Regions from separate parts of the Homo sapiens genome. Here region 2 is linked to region 1. Evidence: promoter capture Hi-C in human tissues and cell types (Jung and others, 2019). All regions are on one chromosome and are shown on one strand. The core of a region is centred on a gene start or on the middle of the fragment in contact, and the rest is flanking DNA. Distances in the headings are between cores, read along the strand shown. Region 1 holds the start of CTNNBL1 (catenin beta like 1). Region 2 has its middle 54 kb from the start of TTI1.

Region 1 (4,767 bases), core at 2,193-4,692:
CTGGTCCCCTATGAGGCTGCACCAGCTTCTACCAATAGCCTATGTCCATACTTGCTGTTCTTGCTGCCTCCATCATTCTGCTCCCTTCACATGACTGGGTCCCTCTCAACCTTCAGTCCTTTAATGCCCATTCCTCTGTGTCCTTCCTCGACCACATTACATAAAGTAAAAGGTCCTGTCCCCAACTCCCAGGGGTTATTTTCGACAGGAGTGTTGTCCAATAAAAATACAACAAAAGCCACAAACAAAACACCTAACTTTACATTTTCTTTCTTTTTTTTTTTCTTTGAGAGAGAGTTTCGCTCTTGTTGCCCAGGCTGGAGTGCAATGGGATGATCTCAGCTCACTGCAACCTCTACCTCCCAGGTTCAAGCAATTCTCCTGCCTCAGCCTCCCAAGTAGCTGGGATTACAGGCATGCACCACCACGCCCGGCTAATTTTTTATATTTTTAGTAGAGACATGGTTTCTTCATGTTGGTCAGGCTGGTCTCAAACTCCCAACCTCAGGTGACCCACCCGCCTCAGCCTTCCAAAGTGCTGGGATTACAGGCATGAGCTACCACACCCGGCCCACTTTACATTTTCTAGTAGCCACATTTTAAAAGTTTTTTAAAAAGCAACATTAATTTTAATAATATATTTTCTTTAATCCAATATATCGTAAGTGTTATCATTTATTCAACATGTAATCAGCATAAAAGTTAAGGTACTGTACATTATTTTCACGTGGCCAGGGGCAGTGGCTCACGCCTGTAATCACAGCACTTTGGGAGGCCAAGGCTGGCAGATCACCTGAGGTTGGGAGTCAAGACCAGCCTGACCAACATGGAGAAACCCCATCTCTACTAAAAATACAAAAATTAGCCAGGCGTGGTGGCGCATGCCCGTAATCCCAGCTACTCAGGAGGCTGAGGCAGGAGAATCGCTTGAACCCAAGAGGCAGAGGTTGCAGTCAGCTGAGATCTCACCATTGCACTCCAGCCTGGGCAACAAGAGTGAAACTCCATCTCAAAAAAAAAAAAAAAAAAAAAAAAAGATATTGTACATTATTTTCATACTAAATCTTTGAAATCCAGTGTGTATTTTGCACATGTAGCAGATCTAAATTCGAAACTAGTCACATTTTAAGTATTCAATAATCACATGTGCCTAGTGGCTACTATACAAAGCAGTGCAATTTTATAGCATACTCTGCTATATTCCCTTCCCAGCACTTACCACAAACTGAATGCATTGTTTACTTATTATCTTGTAACTTCCCACCAGATGCTCCACAAAAGCAAGAATCTTGTCTTTTATTCAGTGTTGTATACCCAGTGGATAGACTGCCTTGCACACAGTAGGTGTTCAATATATATTTGTTGAGCAAATGAATGAAACTCTTCTAGCTTTAATGGGCTAGCCATTCTAGAAATTCCAAGCCGGCATACAATCACTGATTTAATAACTTGCCTATTTCCCTTCATCTTTCACTATCAATTAAACTGTCTTTAAAAGAAAAATCTCTTGGCTATATAGCTCCCCATTGCTGAACTGTTCTTTCCCATGATGTCTTAAGCGTCCAGGGTCAATTTCTTGTACTTTGGCTGAGGGAGTGGTATGAAAATAACTGCTAATATTTACTGAATGTTTACTCTTTGGCAAGCATTGTCTAAGGACTTTCCATTTCTCAACAGCTTCACAACAGCCCTGTGAGGCAGCTACCGTCACTGTCCCCCATTTACAGATGAAGAAACCAAGGCAGAGAGAAATTAAGTATTTTGTTCAAGGTTACAGCAGCCAGTTAGTAGCAAAACAGAGACTGCCAGCAACCTAGGGGTCCAGACTCATGGCTCTTAATCACCTATTCTTGACTGCAGGGCTGTCTAACAAAAATATAAGCTGAACTATATATGTTGTTTTAAATTTTCTAGTAAACACATTAAAATGTCAAGAGGGGCAGTTAAAATTGGTTTTAAACATATTTTATTGGCTGAGTGTGGTGTGTGGTGGCTCATACCTGTAATCCCAGCACTTTGGGAGGCCAAGTGGGAAGACTGCTTGAGGCTAGGAGTTTGAGACCATCTTGGGCAACATAGCAAGACCCTGTCTCTACAAAAAATTTAAAAATCAGCCAAGCATAGTGATGCCTGCCTGCAGTCCTAGCTACTTGGGAGGATACCTTAGACCTAGGAGTTTAAGGCTACTGTGAGCAATGATTGTGCCACTGCACTCCAGCATGGGCGACAGAGCAAGATCCTGTCTCTAAATAACAATAAAATAAAATTTTAAAAATTAATTAAGTATATTTTATTTCACCCATTATCCAAAATATGATCATTTAATCAATATGACCAATAACCAATGTAATTGATATAATCAGTACGATCATGTAATCAATATAAAAATTTCACTTTTTCCATACTAGTCTCCAACCCAAATGTGTCTTTATACTTACAGTATTTCTCAATTCAGACTAGTCACATTTCAAGCAATCAACAGCCTATGTGGCTAGTGGCTACGACATTCGGCAGTGCAGCTCTACTGCTCCTCGCAATGACCCTCCTATGGAATCAAAGTGGGGGAAAAACTTTGGGGTGGAAGTCAGTACGCCTGAGCTCAAATTCCAGCTCCTTGTTTCTGAGTGACTTTGGACAAGCCCTTTCTGCTCTCTAGGTCCCATACAGTTTCCCCACAAGTTTCCTAGGCAAGGGGGACCCTGAGCAAGATTCCTAGAAACTCATTCCATGCTAGAATTCCCAACATCTCCTGCAAATCGCAGTAAACACAAGCACAGCTTTCCACACTTTAAAACCAGCTTTCATACATATCAGTTGGTACAGTCCTCAAACAACCCTACTAAGGCAGTTATTAGTGTCTCCACTATATAGATACAAAAACTTGGTTCAAAGAGGGGGGGAATGACTTGTCCAAAAGCCACATAGCCAGTCAGTGGAGAAGCTGGAGATCAAATCCAAGTGAGACCAGTGCACTCCCACCGCCGCCACCACCATCACCTCAATGACTGGGGGGACATGAGAGCTGAGAGGACATGGTTGTGAAAAAAAGGATAGTCTGGGGTTTCAGAGGAGTTTCAGGGAACCAGGCCCCAGGGTGAGGAAGAGGAGGTGAAGGGCTCAGGTCTTGAGAAGGGATGAATCGAAAGGGCCCAGGAGGGCTTCGGAGAGCAAAGTAAAACGAGGGGCTGAGACCCCGGGTGGCATGAGAAGTTAGAGGGCCCGGGAGTGAGGCGAGAGGAGGTGAGATGAAAGGGCTCTGGCTCCTGCGACCCCTGCCCAGGTGAGAACGCGGTCGCTCGGCCCTCCCTGCCCCTCATACCTGGTAGCTCAGAAGTTCGCCCACGTCCATGGTACCCGGCCCAGCAAATACTCCACTTCCCTGCACTCACGCCCAGACCGCGGGCCCGTCAGCCGCGGCTCCAGCCACACTGCCGTAAAGTGCGGCGAGCGGAGCCGCAGAGCCAATAGGGCAAAAGTGCGAGCGACAAGCGAGCCGGCCACACCGCGGTAAAAGGACGCGCCGCCGTAAAGCGCGCTGCATTTGGAACAGGGTTGCTTCCGCCTGGAGCCTGAGGGGGCGGGGAAAGGGGGCGGAGACTTAGAGGAGGGGCGGGAGGGGAGAGCAGGGACCAGAAGAAACCAAACTTGATTGCGCGTCCCTAGTGTCCAGGGCGGAGTGCCGGGTGTTTCGTGTGCGCTCTCACGAGCTTCCAGTGATTTATCCTCATTTCACAGAAAAGGAAACTGACGCTCCCAACTGCACCATCCAATACTTTACTCACTAGCCACATATGGCTACCGAGCGCTTGAGATATGGCTACTCCGAAGTGAGATGTGCCATAAGTGTAAATAAAATACACACCAGATTTCTAAGACTTACATTGATTACAGGTTGAAATGATATTTTGGATATACTGGGTCAAATTCATATATTATAAAATGAATTTTACCTGTTTCTCTTTACTTCTTAAATGTGGTTAGTAGAAAGTTTTAAATTACACATGTGGCTCTCATTTGTGGTTCCCATTAATTTCTATCAGATAGTGCTGGCTCAAAAAGTGACTTGTTCCAAGGCTGTACAACTATTACTGGCTGAGAAACTATTGGTGATCACATGTCCCTCTCTAGGCTTGTGTCTGCTCATCTATGCGAAGTCTAACGGTCACTAGATGATCCCCTTGCTACCCAGGTGATATAAAAAGGTTTCTGGAGGAGAAAGTTGCCCATAATTGGAAGAGAATCATTCAGAGTGCATCTGATCTTAAACAAGATCAGAATGCACCTGGGACTTAAGGCTCCATCTTCAAAGGAAATTAAACCTCCTTCCATAAGCCCCTGTCCTTTATATTTATAATTATATTTATGTATTATATTATATTTATATGCCCTTCATATTTATAATTTTGGTCCCCATCCCATCTGCACTGGCTCCAATTATACAGAAATTATTCTTATTCCTCAGAATGACAAATCCTCTCCCCTTCTGCCTGGCCATCAGCACCATACCTCATCCAATTCTCTCATCTTTCGGGTCTCAAATGTCACTTTCTTACAAGGGCTTCTTCAACTCACCCTGGTCCAGGTAATCAACCTCTCTCCTCATTATTCTTTTTCCAAGTACCTGCTCCACTACGTATATATCTCATTCTGTAATTTTGTGCTTAATGGTTGACTATTTGTTTCTTGACAGCCTCATTTACTGGATTGCAAGCTCTATGCAAGCAGGACATGTGTGTGTCATGTTCACCACTGTATCCCCCAAGCCTA
Region 2 (4,987 bases), core at 526-3,025, 290 kb before region 1:
GTGGCTCATGCCTGTAATCCCAGCACTTTGGGAGGCCGAGGTGGGCGGATTACCTGAGGTCAGGAGTTCGAGACCAGCCTGACCAACATGGAAAAACCCCGTCTCTACTAAAAATACAAAATTAGCTGGGCGTGGTGGTGTATGCCTGTAATCCCAGCTACTCAGGAGGCTGAGGCAGGAGAATCACTTGAACCCAGGAGATGGAGGTTGTGGTGAGCCAGGATTGCGCCATTGCACTCCAACCTGGACAACAAGAGCGAAACTCCATCTCTAAAATAAAAAATAAATCTCTTTTAATGTGTAGATTTCCCCCTCCACCTCTCTCTCATTTTCCTTGTAAGTTTTTTGGTGGAGAAACACGGTCATTTTTCCTACAGCATTTCCCACCGTCTGGATTTATTGATTGCATCCCTATGGAGGTCATTTCTTGGGCCCCTCCTCTCACCTGTGTTTCCTGGCCATTGGGAGGCAGAGTAAGAGTCGTGATCAGGATTGAGTCTCTTAGCTTTGTTTTTGGCACTTCTCCTCCATAGGTGGTGTTACGTACTTCCATCAGGAGGTATGTAAGTCTGATCTTACTGTGTTATTAGCAACCATGGTGATCTCACTGGAATCCACACACTCATTAGGGATTGCAGAGTAATGCTGTTCTAATTCTGCCATGCTGGCTTGCTGTTAACCAGAGTCCTTGTGTAAGGGGAACCTTCCCTTCATCAACCATCTGGTAACCTACCGGTACAGTTTGTATGGAAAAGGCAAGATGGCACCTGCCTGTAATCCCGGCTACTCGGGAGGCTGAGGAGGAGAATGGCATGAACCAGGGAAGGCGGAGGTTGCAGTGAGCAGAGATCGCGCCATTGCACTCCAGCCTGGACGACAGAGCAATACTTCGTCTCAAAAAGAAAAAAAAAAAGAAAAGAAAAGGCAAGATAAATACTCGATTTTTTTCTAGCTGAGAAATTTAAAACACACAGATTATGTAAATTGAGGTGCACATCCCACCCCAGGGCTCCCATGTATGCTGAAGGATCCCAGGGATGATGAATGCTTCCTCACAGGTGCATGGTGAGGCACCGGCTAGATCACAATTCCGGTGACATAGATAATCCCCAAACTCTTAAAAAGCCCAGAGGGTGCCTGGCATGGGGACATATTGGTGTGAGGGTCCCCAGCCAGCTCTGGAGAGGCCCCACTCAATTCCTTCTCCACTCCGCCCTGCAAGGGCCGAGTTATGTCCAGCTCCAGTCTCGGTGGCGGCAGCCTGGCTCTGTCTGGCTCCTGAGCCCTCAGGGAATCCTTCTCTTGGGGCTTTTTTCAGTTCTGCAGCCTGTAAAGTGGAGGGATTGGACCAGAGGGGGAGCTCTTCATCTGTTGGGATTGTGGGGACCCACTCCCCAGAAACTTGCTCCCGCTCCTCCCTTGTTACCCCCAGGAGGGCACTGCATCCTCCAAGACTGCAGTGGGCACTATCTCATCTGCTGAGGATGCTTCACTGACCTCACAAGATTCCATGTACAATTCCAGAGGCTTCACCTGTGACCCCGCAAGGACCCCAAGTTAAGAACCCCCTCAAAGAGCAAGATAATCACTTAACTCTCTTTGAGCTTTAAAATTCTGGGATGATTTCCTTTGGAAAAAGGGAGGGAAATGCCTCTAATTACGGAGATGGTAAAAGCATTCACAGCATTGTTCCTAATTCCACTGGGGACCCAAAGTGATAGGCTAATTCAGTCTCCAGATTCTGACAAATGAGAAAACAGGTCAGGGAGGTGGCATGACTTGCTGAGCATTACTTAGCTCTCCCGGTGAGATTAAAGTAGCCTGCCTTCGCAGAGCATCTGGGTGTGGCAAGCCGCGATGCTGTCCTGAGAGGCCAGGAAGATGTGCACACGCATCCTGATAAAAACTTGGACTCTGCGAAAGCTCTCCAGGAGATAATCAGCATAAGAGGATACACCATGGCTCTCCGAAAACCCACTTCTTCCTCAAAGAGTTAAGCTATCTTGAGTTGCTTTCAGATTCTTGCAGGCAGATTGTTGCACTTGATTTAAAAAAAAAAAAAATCTCATTAGAGTGCATCTCCAGTTATGATTATATTCAGGCAACTTTAATTTTGAACCTGTCCAGCTGACTCAGTCTAGTCCTTGTTAACATAAGCTTTGCAAAATACTCCATTCCCCCTGTTAAAACTTGTGGAGTAATAGGGGTTTCTTATTTCACTCAGGGCGCACCAGCACTTCAAGTATTGTTTGGGCTGGGGTTAGGGGTTGGTATAGAATGAATAAGTAGATACTGCAAGGCCTTGAATTTCAGCTTGAGATGTTTGAGCCGTGATCTGCAGGCTGTAGAAGGCTCCTGGAGGATGCAGGAAAGTATAGACCTGGACCCAGGGGATCCTTGGAGATGGCTGGAGGGGGGTGGCTGTGGTCTTCAGAAGGCACTGTGTTGTGGAAGGAGCATGGATGATTTGGAGTTCCTCAGCGCTGGGCTTCATTTCTGACTCCGCCTCTCTGTAACCGTGTGACCTTGGGCAAGTCATTTTACTTCCGAGCTGCATTTTCCCATCTCTGAATTAGAGCTGTTGCCACTGCCTCTTCAGGCAGCTGCATCAGAGGGGATGGATGCGGTAGTGTTTCTAAAGCATCTGACACTGTGCCTGGGGCTCCAGCAACATCTTTCCCCCGCTGCCCATGGCTTTGTTATGGCTGCAATACACACTCCTCTTGACGGTTACAGCCGAGGAAGTAGATGGTTAGGTCTCAGCATGTACCACCCAGAAACTAAAATAGAACCACGGTAGGGTGAGAGAATCAAAGAAGGCTTCTAGGAGGAGGTGACGTCCTAGTGGACAAGTAGATTTCAGCAGACAGAATAATGGGCATTCCAGACAGGAAAAATCACATGCCCAAAGAGCTGTGGGCATACCTGCCAGTATCTGTACACATCATAACTCGGTTGGGAGTGACAGGAGACCCAATTCAAAATTGGCTTGAGCAAAAAAAAAAATACCTTGGCACACAGAACGAAGAGGCCCCGCAGGCACAGCTCCCCCAGCCTGTCTGTCTTCTGATGCTGCTTTCCCCAGTGGTGGCTTCACTCTGACTCCAGGCTCCTGTTCCTTCAGCATCACACACCCAAGTGAATGTGCACCTCCTAACAGCTCTAGCCAAAGGCCTAGGATTGGGTTGGATTTTTAGAGATGGGGTCTTGCACTGTTGCCCAAGCTGACCTGGAACTCCCGAGCTCAAGAGATCCTCCCACCTCAGCCTAAATCCTAGGATTTGCTCTCATTGGCTCAGCCGGTGCTTTGCCCAGCCCCAAACCAAACTTGGTCCATCTACAACGGGTGTCAGCAACTTTCTCTGTAAAGGGCCAGAGTGAATCTATTAGGGTTTACAGGCCATACATAAAGGTCTCTGTGGCATCTTCTTTGACTTTTTTTTTCTTACAATCTTGTTGTTGTTGTTGTTGTTGTTGTTGTTGTTGCTGTTGTTGTTGAAACAGGGTCTTACTCTGGTAGCACAGGCTGGAGTACAGTGGTATGATCTCAGCTCCCTGCAGCCTCAATCTCTCTGGCTCAGATGATTCTCCCACCTCAGCCTCCCAAGTAATCTGGGTTTACAGGCGCACACCCCCATGCCTGGCTAATTTTTTGTATTTTTAGTAAAGATAGGATTTTGCTGTATTGCGAACCAGGCTGGTTTCAAACTCCTGGACTCAAGCAATCAGCCCACTTCAGCCTCCCAGAGTGCTGAGATTACAGGTGTGAACCACCGTGCTGGGCCGCAATCTTTTAAAAAACGGAAAAATTCTTTTTTTTTTTGAGACGGGAGTCTCGCTGTGTCGCCCAGGCTGGAGTGCAGTAGTGCAGTCTCGGCTCACTGCAAGCTCCACCTCCCGGGTTCATACCACTCTCCTGCCTCAGCCTCCCGAGTAGCAGGGACAACAGGCACCCGCCACCATGCCCGGCTAATTTTTTTGTATTTCTAATAGAGATGGGGTTTCACCGTGTTAGCCAGGATGGTCTCGATCTCCTGACCTCGTGATCCGCCTGCCTCGGCCTCCCAAAGTGCTGGGATTACAGGCTTGAGCCACTGCGCCTGGCCAAAAAAAAAAAAAAACGGAAAAGTTATTAGCTCAAGGGCCTCACAAAAAATAAGCCAGGGGCCTTTGTTTTTTTGTTCATTGGTGGTTTGTTGTTTTTGCTTTGCCCTCGGACCTTAGTTTGCCAACCCCTGAACTGCAGCAATCTCGGGGACAAGTCTGGAGACACCCACACCATATGGAGAAAGAGTTGAGGTGGAGTGGTTTCCCTAAAAGAAAGCACTGTGTTTGGTTACCAGGAAGAGAGATGCTGGGATCGGGGAGGGCATATATGACAGGCACTCACCACCCTGTATTTGTGGCCTGTGACACGTGTGGTGTGGCAGTCTGGGAGAGTGAATGTGAGGAGGTTGTGGGCGCTGAGGCCACATTTATGGAAGGCCTTGAATGCCAATCTGAGTATCCCAGCCTTAAGGGATCAAGAAGTGGCCTTGGAAGGTCCTTGAACAGGTGAATAATGTATTGAAAGCAGGATGTTAGGAATATTCATCTCGTGGCAGCATACGGGAGAAATTGGAAGGGAGAGAGACTGGCAATGAAATTGTATTTCTGAAAGTCCCAGGACGAGAAAATGTACCTCTTCCATCAACCCCGAACTGTTTGACATGCTGTGGTTCATGGGCAACTTGAGGCACATAAATATGTGATTTAAAGTTTAAAAGTAAGAAGTCAGATGAATGGAACCTCTGATGAGGCTTCCTCTGGCTTGTTCCGGAGAGTTGAGGAGCCCTAGAAATGATTTTCCGCAGCTCCAGCTGTGATGAGCAATGCAGGGTCCCTCTCCTTTTGTGTGGCTTACCCAGTCCTGTGCGTCGGGCTTGATTGGAAGCCAGGTGCCCGTACTGCCTTTCCTCCAGAGTAAGGAATAGAGGCCAAATTTCAG

Evidence for each region. Contacts are between HindIII fragments. The study calls those that stand out against the background at their distance.
Region 2: a contact is called between a fragment that was not itself captured here and the fragment with the promoter of CTNNBL1 in region 1, in 1 of the 25 tissues and cell types used here (IMR-90 fibroblasts).

The regions. Positions count from the first base shown.
Region 1 is chr20:37,692,705-37,697,471 of GRCh38, reverse strand. It overlaps CTNNBL1 (catenin beta like 1), which reads right to left and starts at 3,442. Exons shown (of 16, transcript NM_030877.5): 1 at 3,320-3,442. The coding sequence starts at 3,349. RefSeq lists a silencer at 1-121 and an enhancer at 3,105-3,164. The HindIII fragment of the contact is 21,229 bases long and covers 1-4,767 here.
Region 2 is chr20:37,977,443-37,982,429 of GRCh38, reverse strand. No RefSeq gene overlaps it. Among named protein-coding and RNA genes, the nearest start is that of TTI1, 54 kb to the left of the region's middle. The HindIII fragment of the contact is 8,966 bases long and covers 1-4,987 here.